Regions from separate parts of the Homo sapiens genome. Here region 1 is linked to region 2. The links are contacts of gene promoters, found by promoter capture Hi-C in blood cells and fetal thymus (Javierre and others, 2016). All regions are on one chromosome and are shown on one strand. The core of a region is centred on a gene start or on the middle of the fragment in contact, and the rest is flanking DNA. Distances in the headings are between cores, read along the strand shown. Region 1 overlaps RNF125 (ring finger protein 125). Region 2 holds the start of RNF125 (ring finger protein 125).

Region 1 (5,935 bases), core at 1,140-3,639, 41 kb before region 2:
CAACAAAAGAGCACTATTAATATTTGTAGTGTGGGAGAAGGAACCTGCTTATAGAAATTTGTTCATCCAACACTCTTTATTATGCCCCTACTACGTGTTCCGCACTTAGAATATAGAGATCAGTAGGATACTTTGAAGTTAGATACTTTGGGTTCAAATCCTAGCACCAGCAGTGTGATCTTGAGCATATAAGTTTCCCCTTCTGTGAAATGGAGATAATAACACCTGCCTTGTAGAGTAGCTGTAATATTTACAGATAATGTCTTCAGTGTGCCAGGTAAACATCAAACATTCAATAAATGCCACATATTTACTACTATTTGATCCCTGTCCTTGAAGAGTTGGGGCTCCCTGAGGGAAGAAACTACCATGTGTCTAGTTGATCCCTACATTCTTAGTACCCAGAAAATAGTTTCCGATTTCATTTCAGCCTCTCGCTGATGTTCTGTGTCTCAGAGCTGTTAGATTTAAAATAATACACCATTTACTATTATAAAGCTCAGTCATTATATTAGCTCAGTCTTTAGCTGCCATTATTATCACTTAAGCAGATACTTTCAATAGTGTATCAAGTGCCATACTCAAGATGTGAACAGACAACTGTTCAAGATCTGTAAAGGGAATTACTAATTTTGCCCAAGGGTTCGGAAAGGCTCCAGCAGAGCTGCTGGTAACTGAAGTGGGTCTTGAAGAATGAGCCAGCCAGGCCAGCAGGGAGGAGCATCACAGCAGAGGAATCAACGTGGGAAAAGGCAGTAAATCCTAAAAGAAAGAGGCCTGCTTAGGGCAATGGAAAAACCTCAGTGTAACTGAAGGTAGGGAAAGTTGGGGAAGTGGTAGGGGATGAGTTTGGAATGATAAGTTGGAACTAGCTCTGCTCCATATTTATTCAAGCACCTGACATGGTTTTGGTAGACTTGATGCAAGGAGTCAGAGGTACAGAGATGTCTGTTACCTTGGTCCCTACCAATAAGGAGCTGATTAGAGTCTAGTGGAGAAGACAAATACAGAAAACCTGGAATTTTAGGCCAGGCACGGGGGCTCACGCCTGTAATCCCAGCACTTTGGGAGGGCAAGGTGGGCGGATCATGAGGTCAGGAGATCGACACCATCCTGGCTAACACGGTGAAACCCTGTCTCTACTAAAAATACAAAAAATTAGCCGGGTGTGGTGGCGGGTGCCTGTAGTCCCAGCTACTTGGGAGGCTGAGGCAGGAGAATGGCGTGAACCCAGGAGGCGGAGCTTGCAGTGAGCCGAGATCGCACCACTGCACTCCAGCCTGGGCGCCAGAGCAAGACTGTCTGAAAAAAAAACTAGAATTTTAAGCAAACAAGATTTTGTTTTGTTTTGTTTTTGAAACGGGATCTCACTTTGTTGACCAGGCTGGCCTTGAACTCTCAGATTCCAGAGATTCTCCTGCCTCAGCCTCCTGAGTAGCTAGGATTACAGGTGCAAGCCATTGTTAGTCTGACGTTAATAGGCAACTAGTGGAGTCTTCAGTCTCTGGTCAACATAAAATTTAATTGTGTGACTAAAGACACATCTGTCAAAACGACATTGCAAAACAATGGGCTGAAGTCGGTACTAGTGGAAAAACTTCTTTTGTTTCTTAAATTGGGAGATTAAACCTGAGGGAAGAGAGGGTAAGAATAGGAAGGAGAAAGAAATGGTAGGTGAGAGACAGACTGAAGATTACCTAAGTATTGACTTATACTCAATGTTGTCCATTTCCTAACATCAGCTCATCCTTTCTTACTTGTCTCTACTCAATGCTCCCAGGCTATACTACTTATATTAAGAGCCAACAACTATACAGTGTACATTCAAAATATGCTGGCTTCATCTCTGTATGGGCTTTTTCTGATGGTGAATGCAATGGGCAAATAATAGCTACCATATTAGAAGCTACTACCAACTTCAAAGAATTGAAAACTGTTTCTAAGATTAGCCTCCCACTTACTAGACATGGTGATATTATCATGTCCTTATGCTCCCACCAACCCACCCGCAACAATGACAGGTCTTTAGTGGATAAGCTTACAGCCCATTCACTGTGCAGGCCAGTGTGTCAGGGACCGGACATCTGCCTGTCCTGATTTGTGACCTGGCAGCTTAGAAGAGCTTCACCTCATCCTACTGATGCCTTCAGTTGATCCCCTTAGCCCTGTGGTTTCTATTTCCTGGCCTTGAGCATGTTGACTCCAAATAGGCCCTTTCTATGCAATGAATCTTCATTTATTGTTCTTTCTTTTCAAGAAACCATAAAGCCAAAAATAACCAAAATCATTGAGTAGATTTTCTCTACCTTTGTTTTACAAATGACCAAATTGAGGACCAAAGAAATCCTCTTGCTAGGAAAAGGGGAAAGATCTCCTGACCAAGGCTGCTTTAATAGGATTGAAACAAAACAACACTTGATGTGGGTGGAAACAGATGTTTCTTTCCATTTTTGATCAGATGAGGAAGATTCTTTTGAAAGGATAATTATTCCTCTAAATCCTTAGGATATAGATTATTCAATGCTGGTCAAGATAGTATCAAATTAAAAAAAAATAGTCAAAATCAAATCAAAATGGATTAAAAACTTGAATCTAAGACCTCAAACTATGAAACTACTAAAAGAAAACATTGGAGAAACTCTCCAGGACATTGATCTGGGCAAAGATTTCTGGAATAATACCCCACAAACACAGGCAACCAAAGCGAAAATGGACAAATGGAATCACATCCAAAAGCTTCAGCACAGCAAAGGAAACAATCAATAAAGTGAAGAGACAACCCACAGAATGGGAGAAAATATTTGCAAACTCCTCATCTGACAAGGGATTAATAACCAGAATATATAAGGAGTGCAAACAACTCTACAGGAAAAGAAATTAGTAATTCAATTTAAAACAGGCAAACGATTTAAACAGACATTTCTCAAAAGAAGACATATAAATGGCAAATAGGCATATGAAAAAGTGCTCAGCATCATTGATCATCAGAGAAATGCAAATCAAAACTACAATGAGATATCATCTCACCGCAGGTAAAATGGTTTTTATCCAAAAGTCACACAATAACAGATGCTGACGAGGATGTGGAGAAAAGGGAAACTTCATACACGGGTGGTGGGAATGTAAATTAGTACAACTACTACGGAGAAGAATTTAGAGGTTCCTCAAAAAACTGAAAATCAAACTATCATATGATCCAGCAATCCTACTCCCAGGTATATTCCCCAAAGAAAGGAAATCAGTATATTCAAGAAATATCCGCACTCCCATTTTTATTGCAGTACTATTCAGAATAGTCAAGATTTGGAAACAACCTAAGTGTCCAGCAACAGACAAGTGGGTAAAGAAAGCATGGTACATATGGAGTACCATTCAGTCATAAAAACGAATGAGATTTTGTCATTTGCAACAACATGGATGGAACTGGAGGACATTATGTTAAGTGAAATAAGCCTAGCACAGAAAGACAAACTTCACATGTCCTCATTTATTTGTGGGAGCTAAAAATTAAACCAATTGAACTCATGGAGATAGAGGGTAGAATGATGGTTACCAGAGGCTGGGAAGGGTAGTGGGGATTGGGGGAAGTGGGCATGGTTAATGGGTACACAAATATAGTTAGATAGAATGTATAAGATTTAGCATTTCATAGCACAACAGGGCAATTAAAGTCAACAATAATGTATTGTACATTTAAGAGTATAGGCCAGGCACAGGGGCTCACGCCTGAAATCCCAGCACTTTGGGAGGCCAAGGTGGGTGGATCACCTGAGGTCAGGAGTTTGAGACCAGCCTAACCAACGTGGTGAAACCCTGTCTCTACTAAAAATACAAAAATTAGCTGGGTGTGGTCACATGAGCCTGTAGTCCTAGCTACTTGGGAGGCTGAGGCAGGAGAATCCCTTGAACCTGAGAGGCGGAGGTCACAGTGAGCCAAGATCGCACCACTGCACTCTAGCCTGGGCGACAGAACGAGACTCCCTCTCAAAAAAAAAAGAGTATAATTGGATTGTTTGTAACACAAAGAAAGGATAAATGCTTAAGGTGATGGGTATGCCATTTACCCTGATGTGATTATTACACACTGCATGCCTGTATCAAAGTATTTCATGTGCCCCATAAATATATACACCTACTATGCATCCACAAAAATTGAAAGTACATATATGGTCATACTTCTCACTTGCCCTTTAATTTTTTTTTTTTTTTTTTTTTTTAGAGATGGGGTCTCACTCTGTCACCCAGGCTGGAGTGCAATGGTATGATCATGGCTCACTGTAACCACAAACTCCTGGCTTTAAGTAACCCTCCCACTTTGGCCTCATAAAATGCTGGGACTACTGGCATAAGCCACGGTGCCTGGCCACTTTAGCGCTTTAAAGGAAGCAATGGTTCTCAGCGTGGGGTCCTCAGACCAGCAGCATTGTCACCATCTGGTAACTTGTTAGAAATGCAAATTTTCAGGCCCTAGCTCAGACCTATTTTATCAGACACTCTAGGGGCAGAGGCCAGCAATCTATGTTTAAACAGGTCTTGTAGATGATTCTCATGCATGATAAAGTTTGAGAACAACCGCCTTAAAGACAATATAATTTCTTTCAGAGAAACAAGATAAAATAGTAGGCGAACAAATGAGAAATTCTAAATCTAATACCTAGGCTGTAATGGAGAACACCTTTCTTAACTCCAGTACCTATAAAAAAAACAGTCATTTGGACCAGGCGCGGTAGCTCATGCCTGTAATCCCAGCATTTTGGGAGGCTGAGGTGGGCAGATCACCTGAGGTAAGGAGTTTGAGACCAGCCTGACCAACATGGAGAAACTCCGTCTCTACTAAAAATATAAAAATTAGCCAGGTGTGGAGGCATGCCCCTATAATCCCAGCTACTCGGGAGACTGAGGCAGGAGAATCGCTTAAACCCGGGAGGCAGAGGTTGCAGTGAGCCAAGATCGCGCCACTACACTCCAGCCTAGGCAACAACAGCAAAACTCCGTCTCAGAAAAAAAAAAAAAAAAGTCATTTGGGGTTCTATTTTACTGAGAATCATAATTAGGCCAGAAATATGACTCAATCATAAAAAAGCTAGTACAGTGCTGTATGGATAACATTCAATTATCTAGAATAATGGTTGTTTCCTCTGTTCTGCATTCACTGACCATTCTTGGAGTGCTGTGTTCTATTTTAAGTGCTGGGTAAGGAAAACATCAATAAACTGCAATAGACACAGAAGGGAAATTAAGATGTTGAAAGGTGTAGAAACAAAATCCTTGTAATAACTGGGTTACCATTCTGGAAAACTTCAAGCACTCACACAGTAAGTTACTTATCACCTTGAGAGGGAGGCTACATTAGATCACCTCTGAGGACCCTTTTCTCTACGACTGTGTAAAAATCTTTATTAGCTCAATACTATAAACAGCCCAAGTATAATGTAGAAATAGAAATGCTGCTGTATGTCTATTATGTATAAGCTTGAGGAAGAGAGGTAAGGAAGAAGGTTTGTAATTTTTTGCTGTGTAAAAAAATCATTGTTGGCATAAAGCCAAGTGCATTGAGTTTCTTTTGCACCTGTTCTCATTCTCCTACTGTAATCCATGAGAATTAGAAAAACTTCCCACTCCTTTTGCTCTTTTTTTTAAATTTTTTTTGAGATGGAGTTTTGCTCTTTTTTATTGTTTAATGTTATTATCTTTTTTTCTATAATTGTCTTTTTTTTTTTTTTTTTTTGAGACGGAGTTTTGCTCTTTTTGCCCAGGCTAGAGTGCAACGGCGTGATCTTGGCTCACTGCAACGCAATCTCTGCCTCCTGGGTTCAAGTGATTCTCCTGCCTCAGCCTCCCGAGTAGCTGGGATTACAGGCATGGGCCACCATGCCCAGCTAATTTTGTATTTTTAGTAGACATGGGGGGTGGTTTCTCTATATTGGTCAGGCTG
Region 2 (6,513 bases), core at 2,153-4,652:
AAATAGGTTTACAAACAAAAATCAGCATAAACCACCTAGTTCAACATGTCTGAAAATGTAGCTTCAATATGGGATAATAAAATACAGAAGGTTCATTTGCATTTATTCGTTTTCCAACTTAATTTCAATGGAAAAGAGTAATTCATTTAGAATGTACAAATGGTATTAACGCTCACAATCTCTACTGCAGAAAGGACTCTGGTTAACATTTATAAAGTGGAAGGGGACCAAGTAAGTTTGCCAAAAGGAGGAATATGGAAATTCTGCCCACAGCCAGAACAATGGACATAGATTTGTCAAAACAAAGAACAGTAAAGAGAGGAAAGGCAATTTGTTCAGCCCTTGTAATGCTATTTTATGACTATTTTTCCAGTTGCTAGTTTCCTATTCACTTTAACAAAGAAAAAGATTAAACAAAAAATTTAACATTTTGCAAATTTATATTATCCTTTAGTAGAAGGAAAAATATTGTAAATGGTAAATTATAATATTCAAAGTCCAAACCGAGAAAACAATCTCCAGTCAGATCATTGAATAGCAAAGCGGTCTGTTCCAAAAAGAATCTTCAAAACGCCCACTGTTTATGTTTTGCACAACTTTAAAGTTTTAATGCTAATAATGACTCAATTTAAATGGAGATATCTTTAGGCTGTTATTGCCCTAAAATAATCAATATATTTTATGACTCACACAGCCCATCTTGGCTTCCAGACTGGCCTGTGGATATTATGTTAATAAGCTACATCTGGACAGCTGAGCAACAACATCAGTAATAGAAAGGAGGGTAAATTTAAGCCTCGAGTTTTAAGAACAAAGCTGAAACAACAGGCCTTGAAAATACAGCTACGGCCGGGCTCCATGGCTCACGCCTGTAATCCCAGCACTTTGGGAGGCCGAGGCGGGCAGATCACGAGGTCAGGAGATCAAGACCATCCTGGCTAACACGGTGAAACCCCGTCTCTACTAAATATACAAAAAAATTAGCCGGGCGTGGTGGCGGCACCTGTAGTCCCAGCTACTCGGGAGGCTGAGGCAGGAGAATGGCGTGAACCCGGGAGGCGGAGCTTGCAGTGAGCCAAGATCGTGCCACTGCACTCCAGCCTGGGCAACACAGCAAGACTCCATCTCAAAAGAAAAGAAAACACAGCTACGAAATAATGCCCAAAGCACTCTTTATTTATACATTGTGCAGGCTGCACACTTTTGTCCCTGGCTCACAGACGGGCAGTAGTGAAAACTGCTTTTCAGATACAAGGCTATAGGTATTAAGGATTACCTAAGTCCTTTCAAAACTTTCTTTTTTTTCTTTCTTTTTTTTGAGACTGAGTTTTGCTCTGTTGCCCGGGCTAGAGTGCAATGATGCCATCTCAGCTCACTGCAACCTCTGCCTCCCAGGTTCAAGCAGTTCTCCTGCCTCAGCCTCCCAGGTAGCTGGGATTACAGGCACGGGTCACCACACCTGGCTAATTTTTGTATTTTTAGTAGAGACGAGGTTTCACCATGTCGGCCAGGCTGGTCTCGAACTCCTGACCTCAGGTGATCCATCCACCTCGGCTTCCCAAAGTGCTAGGATTACAGGTGTGAGCCACCACGCCGGGCGTCAAAACTTTTGACTGCAAGTGCACAACATGTTTTTAAGGACTACCTAAATCCTTTCAAAAGTGGTCCTCAAAAACATGTTGTGCACTTGCATTCATAATAACGGTATTTCTTTCTTCCTGCTAAGCCAAATGCTGGTACAAGCCACTGTGGTATCACACATGGCTTCATCATACTATAGTCACCCTTCAAAGGACATTAAGTAGGCTTCCGCTCCTGATCTGTGCAGACACAACACACACACACGTATCCACGAAAAAAAATCAAAGCAAAGAGAGAAGGCTGGGTGCAGTGGCTCACACCTTTAATCCCAGCACTTTGGGAGGCCGAGGTGGGTGGATCAATTGAGGTCAGGAGTTCAAGACCAGCCTGGCCAACATGGTGAAACCCCATCTCTACTCAAAATTCAAAAACTAGCCGGGTGTGGGGGTGGGCGCCTGTAATCCCAGCAACTCGGGAGGCTGAGGCAGGAGACTCACTTGAGCCTGGGAGGCGGAGGTTGCAGTGGGCGGAGGTTGCAGTGAGCCGAGATAGCACCACCGCACTCCAGCCTGGGCGACAGAGCCAGACTACGTCTCTCTCTCTCTCTCTCAAACACACACACACACACACACACACACACACAGTAAACAGAGAGCACAAATTCACAGCTCCAACTCCACCAGTTATTCAAACACACATTAAGGATGTGCCAATTTTATATAGGGACTTTGTTTTTAAATTCTTCTTAGAAACGACCACGGCTTTGCACCAACTGTGAGTTTTAGCTAAGTACTATGCGGTTTTGAGAAAGTTATTTTACTCTGTAATTTCCGCCGGTTTGGAGAGACCGTGCGTAAAGCAGGTAGCCTGCCACCTCCTGTTACGTTGTGGCTGGGTTTTGAAGGAGTACATTCAGGGGCTTGGCGGCTAACGTCCAAGCCCCACCCTAGCAGGTTGTTAAACTCTAACAACTGTGGAAAGTCACTCGGAAGCTCCAGTTTGACTTGCCCTTTGAGGGGCTGGGTGTCTGTGTTGGGAAAGGGTAGCAGGGGTGGGGGTGGAAAGACACTTTGCACAGATCCTTGTTTGCTTAAGACGAGCCTCTGTGGGCATTCTGGGAACACGTGCACAGCTCCAGCAAAACAAAACGGACCCGGGTTTCTGGGGCAGAGGGAAGCGCAGCCCGTTCTACCGTGTTCAGCGGGGTAACTGCGCTTTGCGGGAGCCCCTGCCTTGTAGCTGGAGCTCGTTTCCTTTCCGTGCCTGGGCGAGCGCTGGTTCTCCAGCCAAGAGCACCCTCCCCAGTTGGCGAGCCCTGGCTCTGGGCGGGACCCGTGCCTGGATCCCCTTCTCTGGAGTTCCGCACCTGGGCTTCGGGAGCTGAAAGCGCAAGGGGGCTACAGGACCCGCTTGTTTATTTTTTCTCCTCCCGAAATCCTGTGTCACCTTCCGACCCGCGTTTTCCCCGTGGTCCTGCATCCGACGGGTCCAGGTTTCTCCCTGCAGCAATTTCCTAAGAGGCTGTCTTCCGTCCCCCTCCTTCCCCACACCATGCCCTCAGCTTCCCCACATCGCCCTCCTTAGGGGTGGGCGCAAACCGAGCTCCCCTGGAACTTACACGTGGCCACAGCGGGTCCGGACAGGCTGGTGTAACACCTCAAGGCACACGGCGCAGTCGAAGGACGTGACGGGCAACTCCGGGTCCCTCCTGCGCTCCAGGGCCCGCGCGGTGGCAGAGGCGGGCGCCGATTTGCCGCTGTCGGTGCTCAGCACGGAGCCCATCGCTGTGCCTCTCGCCCAGACAGCTGCGAAGCACTCAGTGCCTGCCGCAGGGTTGTTTTGTTGCCGTGCGGTGGAGGAAGGAAGTCCCGGCCCAGCTGCGATCGCCGCCTCCCAGCTCTCCCAGCTCGCGCAGCCCAGAAGCCACCTCCGCCGCTGCGCCCAACCCTGGTCTAGGGCAGGGCGAGCGCGCGGCCGCGGGGCTGAGATCTTCGGCAAGCCGCCTAGGTTAAGGCGCGGAGGCGGAGGCGGCAGCCGCCCCGTGCTCTGTCTTGTGGTATTGGGAGGATTGAAACCTGAAACCTCAACTGCAGAGAAGAGGACTTGAGGCAGCAGTAAACCTTCCAAGCTATCACACACAGCTGCTTTCCCCACTGTCAGAAGTTAAGTGCGGGCGTGGCCATGCTTAATGATAATCAGAGAACAGCCGCTTTTAAGGTGAAGTGGAAGACCATCCTCCACTGTTGTCATCACAATAAGCTGCAAAAATGACCTATGACCTATGATTGGGCGTCTCCTAAGACGGTGCTATCGCTACTCTGTCATCCAATCAATAGTCCATTAATGGAGAGATAGCCTGGGTAGTGGAAAGAGTCCTGGAGATTAGGATTCCAATCTTACCTCTCCTACAGAGATTCTAGTGCTAAACCCTGCCATCTCCAGTTTCCTCTGCGGCTCAGGATTTCCTCTGTTGTTTGTACGCTCCCCACCCCGCCCTTTAAACATGATCAGCCAGGCGCGGTGGCCCACGCCTGTAATTCCAACACTTTGGGAGGCCGAGGCGGGCTTGAAACTCCTGCTTGAGGGCAGGAGTTCGAGACCAGCCTGGCCAACATGGTGAAACCCCGTCGCTGCTAATAATACAAAAATTAGCCGGGCGTTAATTTACACTTTTTACGAAGACTTATTTAGTGCCCACTGCACGCCAGACTCGGTTCTAGTGATGAAGACACAATCGTCAACAAGCAAACAAAATCCCAGTTCTCACAGAACTTACTTTAAAAAACAAAAACAAAACTTTGAGATAATTATAGATTCACATACAGTTGTAAGAATAGTACATAGTATATAATACACATATACAATAATATATAATATAACACATGGGATATAATAACGCATATAATACATGTACGTATTTAGCAGGCCATAAACTTCACCCAGGCTTTACTTTTAATTAGGAGATATAGGCCGGGTACCGTGGCTCACGCCTGTAATTTCAGCACTTTGGGAGGCTGAGGTGGGAGGATCACTTGAGCACGGGAGCCAAGATCACACTACTGCACTCCGTCCTGTGCGACAGAGTGAGACCATGTCTCAAAAAACAAACCAAGCCGGGGCAGTGGCTCACGCCTGTAATCCCAGCACTTTGGGAGGCAAGAAGGACAGATCACCTGAGGTCAGGAGTTTGAGACCAGCCTGGCCAACATGGTGAAACCCTGTCTCTACTAAAAATACAAAACTTAGCTGGGTGTGAGCTACTTGGGAGGCTGAGGCACAAGAATCGCTTGAACCGGAAAGGTGGAGGCTGCAGTGAGCCGAGATCATGCCACTGCACTCCAGCCTGGGCAACAGAGGGAGACCCTGTCTCAAAAAACCAAAACAGGCTGGGTGCAGTGGCTCACGCCTGAAATCCCAGCAATTTGGGAGGCCGAGGCAGGTGGATCACAAGGTCAGGAGTTCAAGACCAGCCTGGCCAACATAGTGAAACCCCGTCTCTACTAGAAATACATTTCTTTAGTAAAAATTTTTGTACTAAAAATACAAAAATTAGCCAGGTGTGGTGGCACATGCGTGTAGTCCCAGCTACTTGGGAGGCTGAGGCAGGAGAACCACTTGCACCCAAGAGGTGGAGGTTGCAGTGAGCCGAGACCATGCCACTACACTCCATCGTGGGTAACAGAGCGAGACTCTGTCTCAAAAACAAACAACAAACAAAAGGAAGATACATGTAATCAATCCATAAACAAATGAACAAAATCATTTCAGATAATCAGAGCCATGAAGAAGATAAAACAGTAAATGGCAATGAGGAGAAGAATAAGCTCAGAGAAGAATTTTTGGATGAAGTGACATTTGAGCAGAGCCATGAATAATGAAAAGAAGTGAGCCATTCAAAGATTTAGGAAAAAGCGTGGACTGGGAACAGTGAATGAGGCAGAACCAAAGAAAGGAAAGACCTATGGAGCTGGAGCATGGGTGGTGGGGGGCAGGCGGTGGGGGGGGGGAAATAAGATGAAAAGGTAGTTATTCCCATCTTCAAAAGGAAAACAAAAACCTCCCTTTCATCCCACTTATGCCTCAACTCCTGCCCCATATCCGCTTCAAGGCCAAATCTCTTGATCTGATCCTCTACATTTTGTCATCATTTCTTAATTATTCACTTCTTATTCAGTCCAGTCTGGGTTCTGAACCAACCTCTCCACCTCCATCTGTCCAAAAACTGCTTTATTATCAGTGTCACTGGTGACGTTCATGTAACTAATTCCAATAGATTCTTTTCAGCTATTTTTTTTGCTTGACCCCTCAACTATGTTTGTTAGTGCTGACCATCCCCTCCTTCTGGAAACACTCTGACTTTCCCTCTTTCTTTCTGGCTATTGTTTCTTCTCCCTTGCCAGAGTCTCCTTCTCCACTGGCTCTGGGCTGGAGATCCTAGGATTCTGTCTTAGGACCTTTTCCCTTCTCCTCTCTCTCTCTTTCTCTCTTTCTCTTTCTCTCAAAAATCACACAGGTTCTGTCACTATTTCGGTTCCAAAAACTTTCACATCTTTATCTCTACCCCAGGCCATTCAAATGTCCAATAGCCTAATAGCTTACATGACTGACCATTTGACATAAACACCCTCAGCCCAATGTCTCCAATAATGAACTCATTATAGTAGCAGCCTCCTCCAGTGGTTGATCTCTCTTTTAGCAAATGGCACTATGATCCACTTTATAGCTCAGTCTAGACACCTGGAAGTCATCCTTGATTTCTTCCTCTTCCTCATTCACATTGAATCAAGCATAATCACAATCCTGCCTCCAATATGTATCTCAGTAGTTCTTTTTTTTCTGAGATGAAGTCTCTCTCTGTCGCCCAGGCTGGAAGTGTGCAGTGGCGCAATCTCAGCTCACTGCAACCTCTGCCTCCTGGGTTCAAGTGATTCT

The links. The method cuts DNA at HindIII sites, captures the fragments that hold promoters and counts their contacts. A CHiCAGO score of 5 or more calls a contact.
Region 1: a fragment that was not itself captured here is called in contact with the fragment with the promoter of RNF125 in region 2 in 3 of 17 cell types (total CD8 T cells, naive CD8 T cells and activated CD4 T cells); the score reaches 6.5 in total CD8 T cells.

Annotation. Positions count from the first base shown.
Region 1 is chr18:32,056,415-32,062,349 of GRCh38, reverse strand. All of the region lies in intron 4 of RNF125 (ring finger protein 125), which reads right to left. Among named protein-coding and RNA genes, the nearest start is that of RNF138, 32 kb to the left of the region's middle. RefSeq lists an enhancer at 4,146-4,681. The HindIII fragment of the contact is 699 bases long and covers 2,040-2,738 here.
Region 2 is chr18:32,015,714-32,022,226 of GRCh38, reverse strand. RNF125 (ring finger protein 125) reads right to left here and starts at 3,402. Exons shown (of 6, transcript NM_017831.4): 1 at 3,200-3,402. The coding sequence starts at 3,363. RefSeq lists enhancers at 2,641-2,690, 2,335-3,207, 3,507-3,801, 3,208-4,080 and a silencer at 3,507-3,801. The HindIII fragment of the contact is 17,285 bases long and covers 1-6,513 here.